Linked DNA regions of Homo sapiens: regions 1, 2 and 3 are each linked to region 4. Evidence: promoter capture Hi-C in human tissues and cell types (Jung and others, 2019). All regions are on one chromosome and are shown on one strand. Each heading gives the region's core, a stretch centred on a gene start or on the middle of the fragment in contact. The rest is flanking DNA. Distances are from core to core; before and after follow the strand shown. Region 1 overlaps DEFB125 (defensin beta 125). Region 2 has its middle 5.1 kb from the start of DEFB128. Region 3 has its middle 22 kb from the start of DEFB126. Region 4 holds the start of DEFB127 (defensin beta 127).

Region 1 (2,700 bases), core at 193-2,692, 61 kb after region 4:
GCAGAGCATTAAGACAAATAGCTAATGCATGCGGGACTTAAAACCTAGATGATGCGTTGATAGGTGCAGCAAACCATCATGGCACATGTATACCTATGTAACAAACCTACATGTTCTACACTTCTATCCTGGAACTTAAAAAAAATAATAATCAGCCGGGCACAGTAGCTCACACCTGTAATCCCAGCATTTTGGGAGGCCAAGGCGGATGGATCATGAGGTTAGGAGATCGAGACCATCCTGGCTAACATGGTGAAACCCCTCTCTACTAAAAATACAAAAAATTAGCCAGGTGTGGTAGTGGGTGCCTGTAGTCCCAGTTACTCGGGAGCCTGAGGCAGGAGAATGGCGTTAACCCAGGAGGCAGAGCTTGCAGTGAGCCGAGATCATGCCACTGCACTCCAGCTTGGGCGACAGAGCTAGACTCTGTCTCAAAAAAAAAAAAAAACCTAATCAACTTTATAGTTAATAACCGCTTCTCTGTAGTATCATAGAAGACACTTACTGACCCACCTGTTGCCATACAAACAGCAGTCACATGCGTACAGCCATACAAAGCATAGAAACACTGCACACAACTAACATTCATGGACAACACAGAGACCTGAAGAGGCATGTTATGAGGCTGCCATACTTGGAAGTTGGAATTCTAAGTGGAAAGAAGATTGGAAAGATAAGTAGAATTTGAGATGCAGCTTTTAATTTAATATGATGTACTCTCAAGGCAAGTCCCACTTTTATCTCTATCCAGTTAGATCAGTGCTTGTGTTGAATGAAAGAATTAGCTTCTGACTCTGTTAGTTACCAGCTAGAACCTTAAACAAAATTTGACGTCATGACACAGAAAAGTATTTAGGGTCAGAACTTACAATAAAAGGTGGAGGGTAGAGAAGGGAACATTCATCTGGAACTTTCTATATGCTTTTATATGTTCTCCTATATACGATAGTAGTGGGCCAGGCACTGTTAAAGTAAAAATTCTTGTCTTAGTCATAAGAGGCAGCTCCAAACAATGGTCTTCGTTTTTGTTTTTGGCATGGAAAAATACATAGATATACAAATGTTCACTTAAGACAAAAATTAGCTCATATATTTGAGTACATCGGAGGAAGACAGATAAAGAATTTAAGTCCAATTAAGAGAATCCTTGTATCTTCTATACATTTCTGTCTACACATTTCTAATTGTAAGGCAACTCTCTTGGCTGTTGTGTTGGTAGTAGCAATTATGTCCATCCCCATGGTCATCCAATCCCTGATGGAATTTTCCTGGTGAAATTGGATTGGTAGAATCAGCTCTTTGGATATTATTTCCAGCAGTATTTCTAGTTGTTCCATACCAGAAGTAAATGTTAATTAATTATGAGTAAGAGCTGTCTGAGAAGGTGGTGGCATAGTCTCGGAAGTAGCAGTCTCAGATGGTGGCATAGTAGTCTCGGGAGTAGTGGCCTCAGATGGTGGCATAGTAGTCTCAGGAGTATTGGTCTCAGGTGTCATGGTTTCTCCAAATTTAGTTGTGTCAAATGTTATCAGATCATTCAACATAGATACTGGGGAACCAGTAAAAGAGTCCACATCACTATAATCCAATGTTATATCCTCTAGGTGAATCACAGGAAATGCTGGTCGTCGAGTATATTCATGTGATATTATAGAAATGCAGCATGATAGCTTGTTCCTACAAAGAAGTATGTACCTTTCAGTATCTAAACATCGTCTTCTGCAATGTCCTACATTATTCTTCCAACATTTTTGGGGTTCAAAGCTACCTGTAGAGAATAAAATATAGGTCAAATTTTTAACTCTGGCATCAACATAACAACTTTTCATTCATTCAAAAATTTACACTGACTGACATCTAGACTAATATGATGTCAAATACAAAAAGCCATTGTAAGAGACAAACAGGAGAACAAAAAGTGTATATTAAAATTGTGCTATGTGCCATCAAAGAAGTTGTATGGAGAAAAGGAGAAATGTAGAAAAAGAGAGGGACGGAGAGAGAGAGAGCATACTGAGACTGATACGAAACCTAGAAAGAAAGGATGAAAATGAAAAGCCCAGGACCAGATGGATTCACAGCTGAATTCTACCAGATATACAAAGAAGAGCTGGTATCATTCCTACTGAAACTATTCACCCAAAATTGAGAAGGCAGGACTCCGCTTTAACTTATTCTATGAGGCCAGCATCATCCTGAGACCAAAACCTAGCAGAGACACAAGAAAAAAAAAATTTCAGGCCAGTATCCTTGATGAACATCAGTGCAAAAATCCTGAACAAAATAGTAGCAAACTGAATCCAGCAGCACATCAAAAAGCTTATCCACTACGATCAAGTAGCCTTTATCCTTGGAATGCAAGGTTGGTTCGACATATGCAAATCAATAAATGTGATTGCTTATGGATAGCATTTAAAGTACAGAAATTGGTAAACCATGGTGGGTTGGAATAATATGAGAAAAAAAGAGGACTAGAATTAAATTCTAGTGAGTTTCAATATTAAGAGATAAGAGATCAGATAAGAGGAAACGACTTAAAAGGACCAATAAGATAAGTCAGATCAAAACAGGAGAATAAGACTCTAGAGTCTTAAAGCAGACCCCCAGCAGAGCAGAGCTCCAGCAAAGATTTGAATATAATAGTTTAGTTGAGAGACAATTCCTCCTTAAAAAAAATCAGTGGAGAAATGTAGAAATCAG
Region 2 (2,700 bases), core at 115-2,614, 37 kb before region 4:
ACACAGCCATAAAAAATGAAATCATGTTTTTTGCAGGGACATGGATGGAGCTGGAGGCCTGTATCCCAAGTGAGTTAACACAGGAACAGAAAACCAAATACCACGTGTTCTCACTTATAATGGGAGCTAAACATTGAGTCCACCTGGACACAAAAAAGGAAACAAACACCGGGGCCTACTTGAGGTAGGAGGAGGGTGGGAATCAACAAACTACCTATCAGGTACTATGCTTATTACCTGGGTGATGAAATAACCTGTACACCAAATCCCTGTGACATACAATTTACCTATGTGACTAACCTGCACATGTTCTCCTGAACCTAAAATAAAAGCTAAAAAAATTCATACACAGACACACACACACACACACACACACACACACACACACACGAATGGGATTAGTGTTACAAATACAAATGGAAAGAGCTGTGGGGGTTCAAAATAGTAATTAATCAAGTCTATCAGAGGAGTTAGGAAGACATCACAGAGGAGGTCTTATTTTTATCTGAGCCTTAAAAGACAAGAAGGATTTTCTGGGAGGTTTTGAGATTTGGAAAGAAACAATGCAGAATTTGAGGAAAAACATCAGCAGGACTGGTGCTGACAAATACACCTTTGTATCCTGGGTGAAATATGCTACTGGAGTTCTGCTAGAGTGTATCTATCAGACGTAGGAAAAAATGTTGTAGAAGATGGACATCTACTTGGAGAGGAAATTCCCTCTTATTTGATGGTCTTGAACATGGAGGCAGTGGGAGTGGGGTTGAGAAGCTTCCAGAGCACCATACTTGGCTGAAGTAAAGGTTTAGAACAGTCAAATATCTCATCTTTCTTGATTCTAGTTAGAAAAAGCTAAAAGAAATCCCATACACTAATCTGGAGTCCAACTTCTTAGTTCTTATTGTGCACTAAGGTGGCAAACGATTTCCTGCATAGCTGGACTTATATTCATCTAATCCTTGGGTTATCTCTGTTTAATTTATTTAGAAATGGAACCAACTCCCTTACAGCAATGAGTAAAATTGAATTACAGAACAAGGGAGCAGTTGGCTGTCCTCCAAAATTGTAGCTTTGATGGTGGTCTTTAAACCCACAGGTGATTCAGTTAGCACTTTTCTTCTTGTATTTATTAACAGGAACTTAATACCTGTTTTTTGAATAAGTATTTCCTTGATCCACAGACCCTCAGCAAGAAAGACTTAGAAAATTAAAACAAAAACAAAAACAAAAAAACAAGCCAGGCGTGGTGGCTCATGCCTGTAATCCCAGCACTTTGGGAGGTTGAGGTGGGTGGATCTCCTGAGGTCAGGAGTTCAAGACCAGACTGGCCAACGTGGTGAAACCCCATCTCTACTAAAAATACAAAAATTAGCTGGGCATGATGGTGCACGCCTGTAATCCCAGCCACTGCACCTAGCCCTTAATAAATATTCACACATCTGATCTTCGTGCGGCTAAATTTCCTGCACCCATTAACTTAGCTGTCTTCATATGATAAATATGATTTGATGAGATTCTGTAAGCCTCACCAATCTTTATTTTCTGTGCCACTCCAGGATTACAAGGTATACAGCTACTAACTGAGGGGGATAAGGGCTCTGGTTACTGGTATCCATAGTAAGCTATATACAATACTAATTCCTAACCTTACTCTTTCCCTGACTATGTTGTGATAAGAGTTTAATCATCAACGGCTACTTCTACAGCTTTCAGAAATTCCAACATTCTTCCAGATACTGTCACAGAAAGATATTTGGATTAGATGGGACCTCATTACTATAATTAGGTGCCTAGAAATTGCAAAAAGTGGTAAACAGCATTTTTAAAGGAAATGCCATAATTAACTTTATTGCTGTGTTGGAGTATTTTATCTAGCAGTAATTTGTTCAGTACTTTTCAGCCATTCAGTGATTATGTATTGAGCATATAGCATGAATTTTGTGCTATGAGTTAAGAACTCCTAGTCGAGGAGGCTTTGGAAAAGGGAAAAACTGGGCAAATCGAATGCCTAATAGGGCTTGCTTCCAGTGCGGTCTACAAGGACACTTTAAAAAAGATTGTCCAAGTAGAAATAAGCCACCCTCTCATCCATGCCCCTTATGTCAAGGGAATCACTGGAAGGCCCACTGCCCCAGGGGACGAAGGTCCTCTGAGTCAGAAGCCACTAACCAGATGATCCAGCAGAAGGACTGAGGGTGCCCAGGGCAAGCTCCAGCCCATGCCATCACCCTCACAGAGTCCCGGGTATGCTTGACCATTGAGAGCCAGGAGGCTAACTGTCTCCTGGACACTGGCGCAGCCTTCTCAGTCTTACTGTCCTGTCCCGGACAACTGTCCTCCAGATCTGTCACTATCCAAGGGGTCCTAGGACAGCCAGTCACTAGATACTTCTCCCAGCCACTAAGTTGTGACTGGGGAACTTTATACTTTTCACATGCTTTTCTAATTATGCCTGAAAGCCCCACTCCCTTGTTAGGGAGAGACATTCTAGCGAAAGCAGGGGCCATTATACACCTGAACATAGGAGAAAGAACACCCGTTTATTGTCCCCCTGCTTGAGGAAGGAATTAATCCTGAAGTCTGGGCAACAGAAGGACAACATGGACGAGCAAAGAATGCCCATTCTGTTTGAGTTAAACTAAAGGATTTCACCTCCTTTCCCTACCAAAGGCAGTACCCCCTTACACCCAAGGCCCAACA
Region 3 (2,700 bases), core at 44-2,543, 37 kb after region 4:
CCAAAGTCAAGTGGGTGTCTACCACTTGAATATTTGGATCACTCCACCCCTCCCTTTAGTAATTTTTCCCAGAGACCCCACCAAAAACACATATCCTGTTTAAATATCATTGCCAACAATTGTGTCACATTCCACAACTGTGCGTTTAGGAAGTTTGGAATAGTGGCTTACGTGAGCATACTGTTGAACCCAAACCATCATTCTGACACAATATAGTGTAATAAGGAGCAAATAAACAGAAATGCCAAGAGCACGTTCATGCCTCAGCAGATTGCATGTGGCACACTCAGTTCTCCAAGAAAGGTGGCACATCTTGCAGGGCCAAACTAATGATCCCTTTCTTGGAACATGAAGATCTGATTGTGCTGGCAGCCTGCAGGCATATCCCATGATTTGTGGAACATCATAGATATTTAGGAGAGAAACTTCATGTTCGTGCCAACATCCATTAGATGAGTAGGCTAAAGAAGTGAAGGATAGAAGAACTTTGTTGACTGGTGATAAACGCCACTACTGCTGATTTAAGTCAGCTGAAGAATTTTGACAGCTGAAGAATTTTGACAGCTGAAGAATATCAACCTATATCCCCTGGAGCATACAGGGGCTGCTTAATAACTCTGCCATCCTAGGACACAATATATTAATAGTTTAATTCTAAATGGATTAAATATACAGGCAGGACACACTGTTAATGTTAATGAGAAAGTATTCAGAGTTAATAATATTTTCATGCAAGCTACTTATTGCTCTGATCATTCCCCTGGTCCCTGTTCCAACAAGGCTTTTTTGTTGCTGTTATTTAGCTTTGTTTTAGTAAATAATTGACACAAATAGGCTAACTCCCTTCAAAAGTGTACAATCTGAGTATAACTATTTTAGTGTTTATGTAAAGATACTGTAAGATAAATGGAAGAAGTATGTGTGATAAAGAGAAGATGATCAAATAGTGCTCCTGTAAAATAATGCCATGAAATAGAATATTAAATTACTTATTATTTAATAGTATTATGCTGCTACATTTGTGTAATTTAGACTTCAGCTTTTTTTTTTTTTTACTACAATAGATGAGGGTGTATTGTAACTATATTTTGTCTCTGGAACATTCATTCTTCCTTCTATAATGTGAACTGGTTGCTTCCTATGTAGGCTATACAGATGTCATCTTAGAATTTTGTTTTACTAGTCACCTGAGTTGGCACAGATATACCTGGAAATTGTGTTTTCTTTTTTTTTAGTTACTTTCTTTTTCTGCCTAGGCGATAACTTCTAAAGAAAGACTATGAGAAGTAAACTTCAGTATTATGCATTCCAGCAAACATGTCTTTTCTATCTTCACAGTTCAAGCATTTTAAAACAAAAGCTGTGGACAAGTTTGCACACATAAAATGGCTCAGTATATATGTAAAATATGAATAAACAATCTAGGCTGGCTATCTATTTGAGAAAATCTTTAACATGACTGAAAATAAATGAAGAAAGGCACATTAGAATAACTATTATTTAGGGGCTGGAGTTTCAAGAGTGTATTCCATCCATAAAGCAATAATATCATGCTATGTAAGGAGAAGTAGTAAACTTTTGGAAATTAGAAAAATGATTGTTTAGCAGGCACATTTGAAGATAAAGTGAGAAAATCTTTGAAGTCTAAAAACAAGTGGAAAGTATGAGCAAAATATATAAGACACAGAGTGTCAATCCAGGAGAGCCAATATCTGATTAATAAGATTTTCAAAGAGAAGGAGAAAGAAAATTAAAGAAAAAGAATTACAAAAAGCTACATAAATTTGAAAAGATAATAAATCTTCTTTTTTTTCAGAAATAATCTAAGAAATACTATTCTAGAAAATAAATAAGAATTGTCATCTAGATAAAATGACAAAGAGAAAAGTGGGAAACAGTCAGAGGGAAAAACAGAAACCATACTTTTGATAGAGTAATTGTTACACTGACAGGTGATTTTTCACCACAAACAATAGAAGCCATAATCCAATGGACTGAGCTCTTCAACGTATTTTTCAAAGTAAATGTCATCCTAGAAATCCATATCCACAAAAATATTTTAAGAAGAAAATATAAATACAACCTTTTCAGATAGAGATAGCAGATCTCATGAAAGGAAATTCTAAAGGATGTTCTTTAGTTTAAAAAAATGACCACACATGGAAAGTATGTGATGAAGAAGCAACAAAAAAAGGGATAAAAGTGGATTAAACTGGCAGAATTAAATAAAGATGTTTTATAAGATTAAAAACATAATTAAATATCAAAATTCTGAAAATAGAATCAATTGGGAGCGTTAAATAGAATTAAAGTGGTCTATGTTCCATATATTATTCAGAGATTGGTAAATTTATGGATTAACTCTAGTTGCTAGACTGGATGAAAAATTAGATGCTATTTACAACAGATAAATGTAAAAACAAGATACGGAGAAGATTGAAAGTGGAAATATGGGAAAAAAACTTAACATGCAAATACCAACAAAAGGAAGTTATCTTACTTCTTAGTATTGAACAAAATAGTATTTAAGGCAAAAATTATCTTAGAGGAAAATGGGTTACTTTATAATGATAACTTGTTGGAGTCACCCAGAAAATAGAACTACCTATAATTGTCACGCATGCAATAATATTGTCTTAGTATTATATGAAAGTAAAATAAAGCAATAGAATATAAACTGGAGGCAGGTGAAATGGAGTT
Region 4 (2,700 bases), core at 155-2,654:
CCTCAGGCACTTCATTTACTCTGCAGATTTTCCTGCAATGTCCTTGTACATAGTTATTCCAGCACTTCTTAAGTTGTTCGGTTACTATACACAGAAAGGAGCAATAGAACAATATCAGTGTTTGAGACTGAAGGCACGTTGGTTTTGGGGAAGACAGAGGAGGCTTGTAGGAATTAGGGGTATGGGGTATCCACAAGGCAGACCCTCATATATTCTGAAGAGGATTTTCCGACAAGGTCAACCTCAGTGTTTGTATTTAACTGGATCACTTATATTTAGGTCCTGTGAGGTTTTAGGCCTCCCTTAACATCTGATAGACTCTGCCAAGAACATAAGATCTTATCTGAGAAAATAAAGGAGCTGAACCCTTGATTCTAGGCTATGGAACTATGCTCTACATAGGAACCTCAGCAAATCTGCCTGCATCCTGAATGCTCCCAGAGCACTACCTTCTACTGCACCTCCTCTGATGCCCAGAGAACAATGTATTGTTACTATGTGTTTATGTCTGAATCAAACTGTTCTCCTGAGTTCAAACCCACTATCAGGGTCAAGAATGACTTTCATGTTATCCAGTAAGGTAGTAGTCTATTGGGTCTTAGGAATGTAGAGGGTCAGGAATAGGCCATTACTATTCTTATAATAAGGGACACATGTAAGAAATCTGGTTTTGAAAGAGGAAAGGAAACTCTAATTTTTGAGTTCTCAGTATGTGCCAAGCTTCACATAGGTTATATCATTTAATAAAACCCCTGTTAACCAGGTGTCATTATCTCCATAGATGAGGAAACTGAGGCTCCTAGAGTCTTCACTACTTAAAGTTGACAAACTAGTAGATATTGAAGGCATGTTTCTTAAACCTAACTCCAAAATTTGCTTCTTCCTCTATTCATGCACACACACACACACACACACACACACACACATATATATATTTGAGTAAAAGGAAATATAGCTGAGCATCAGAGTAAAAACCATATCCAAAGACATAAAGGTATCCCTAGATATTGGCATCATTCCTTTCTATAACAACACATCTTTCCCAGAAGAAATTATGACCTCTTTTTAGCTCAGTGAGTACTCCTCTTTAAGGATAGTAACATGGAATAAGGCTCCAGAAAGAGGAAATTTCTGATGATGTTGGATAAACTTTAGCCATCTTTGGGGGCTCTATTTCCCTTTAGTGTGGATTATGAAGTTCCCTTTGGCTCCTGAAAATGCTCCATCCCACTGTTGATTTGAGTGAGCTTCTGGTTTGGTTTACCTGTGGGTTTCTGGAACAGCAGAATTGCAATGATCATGAAGAGCCCCATGGCCAGGCTTTCCAGAAGAGGTGCAGCCAAAGCTTTTGGTCCAGTGAACTGCACACTATGCTACCTTCCTCAGAGACTTAGATTCTTATGCACTGAACCAGAACAGATGGGATGATATGAAGTGTGTCCTTAAGCTTCTGAACTGTGAGCTTTGCATCATGCAGGCAGACACAGGAAATTTCAGGCCACCCACTTTACCCCCACATGGAATAGAGATACAGCATGTTCCATCCCATCGCACCAAATGCCGCTGTGTAGGCTGTAGACTGCTGGGAAGAATCTGTGATTTTCCTGCTTTGACTCTCTGCGCAGCCGGACCAAGATCGAAATGTACTCACCTCCAAGAATGAATGTGGCAGTATAAACCAGGACATAAATCTGAAACTCTAACAATAAGAATTTCTAGTAGGTTTCTTGCACATTTCGAAAGAAGGTATGATGTAGTTGGGTCTGATCTGAGGTCACCTGATTTTTTATAAAAGCACCAAGAACATACACTGGGGAAAGGATACCCTCTTCAATAAATCATGCTGGAGAAACTGGATTTCCATGTGCAGAAGAATATATATTATGTATATATATATGTACACACATATATACATATATATGCACACAATGGAATACTATACATACATAACACACAATGGAATATATATATATATATATACACACACACACACAATGGAATACTATTCACCCATAAAAATAATGAAATTCTGTCCTTTGCAACAACATGGATAGCCTGGAGGACATTATGTTATGTGAAATGTCAGGCACAGAAAGATTACCACATGTTCCTATTTATATATGGGAGCTAAAAAAGTTGAGCACATGGAAGTAGAGAGTAGTGTTGCAGATATTAATATTAGAGGCTGGTAATGATTAGGGAGAGGGGAGGATGGAGAGAGATTGGCTAATGGATGCAAAATTATAGATAGGAGGAATGACTTCTGGTGTTGTAGCACTGTAAGGTGAATATGGTTAACTACAATTTATTGTATACTTTTAAAAGGCTAGAAGAGAGGATTTTGAATGTTCCCAATACAAATGATAAATGTTTGAGGTGACGGATATGCTAATTACCCTGGTTTGATCATTACACATTATATGCATGTATTGAAATATCACTTTGTATCCTATAAATAAGTACAATTATGTGTCAACTAAAAATAAAAGGAAAAATGGCTAAAATGGCCAATGTTATGTCATATATTTTACCACAATTAGAAGAAAAAGATGCATGAGGGTATTTTTTTTCTACCAGTTGTACCTTGTCTTTGAAAATATTAAAATGTTGCCACAAGGAATCGATGTTTACCTAGATCATTCTTTGATCATTGATTGCAGTTTTCAAAAAATTTCAACCCTGTTAACCACTGAGATGCAT

What was found. Contacts are between HindIII fragments. The study calls those that stand out against the background at their distance.
Region 1: a fragment that was not itself captured here is called in contact with the fragment with the promoter of DEFB127 in region 4 in 1 of the 25 tissues and cell types used here (mesendoderm cells).
Region 2: a contact is called between a fragment that was not itself captured here and the fragment with the promoter of DEFB127 in region 4, in 6 of the 25 tissues and cell types used here (dorsolateral prefrontal cortex, mesenchymal stem cells, mesendoderm cells and 3 more).
Region 3: a contact is called between a fragment that was not itself captured here and the fragment with the promoter of DEFB127 in region 4, in 5 of the 25 tissues and cell types used here (H1 embryonic stem cells, dorsolateral prefrontal cortex, mesenchymal stem cells and 2 more).

The regions. Positions count from the first base shown.
Region 1 is chr20:95,073-97,772 of GRCh38, reverse strand. It overlaps DEFB125 (defensin beta 125), which reads right to left. Exons shown (of 2, transcript NM_153325.4): 2 at 679-1,768. The coding sequence ends at 1,356. Among named protein-coding and RNA genes, the nearest start is that of DEFB125, 8.8 kb to the right of the region's middle. The HindIII fragment of the contact is 8,020 bases long and covers 1-2,700 here.
Region 2 is chr20:193,436-196,135 of GRCh38, reverse strand. No RefSeq gene overlaps it. Among named protein-coding and RNA genes, the nearest start is that of DEFB128, 5.1 kb to the right of the region's middle. The HindIII fragment of the contact is 6,858 bases long and covers 1-2,700 here.
Region 3 is chr20:119,313-122,012 of GRCh38, reverse strand. No RefSeq gene overlaps it. Among named protein-coding and RNA genes, the nearest start is that of DEFB126, 22 kb to the left of the region's middle. The HindIII fragment of the contact is 9,240 bases long and covers 1-2,700 here.
Region 4 is chr20:156,158-158,857 of GRCh38, reverse strand. It overlaps DEFB127 (defensin beta 127), which reads right to left and starts at 1,404. Exons shown (of 2, transcript NM_139074.4): 1 at 1,265-1,404; 2 at 1-84. The coding sequence starts at 1,313. The HindIII fragment of the contact is 9,888 bases long and covers 1,034-2,700 here.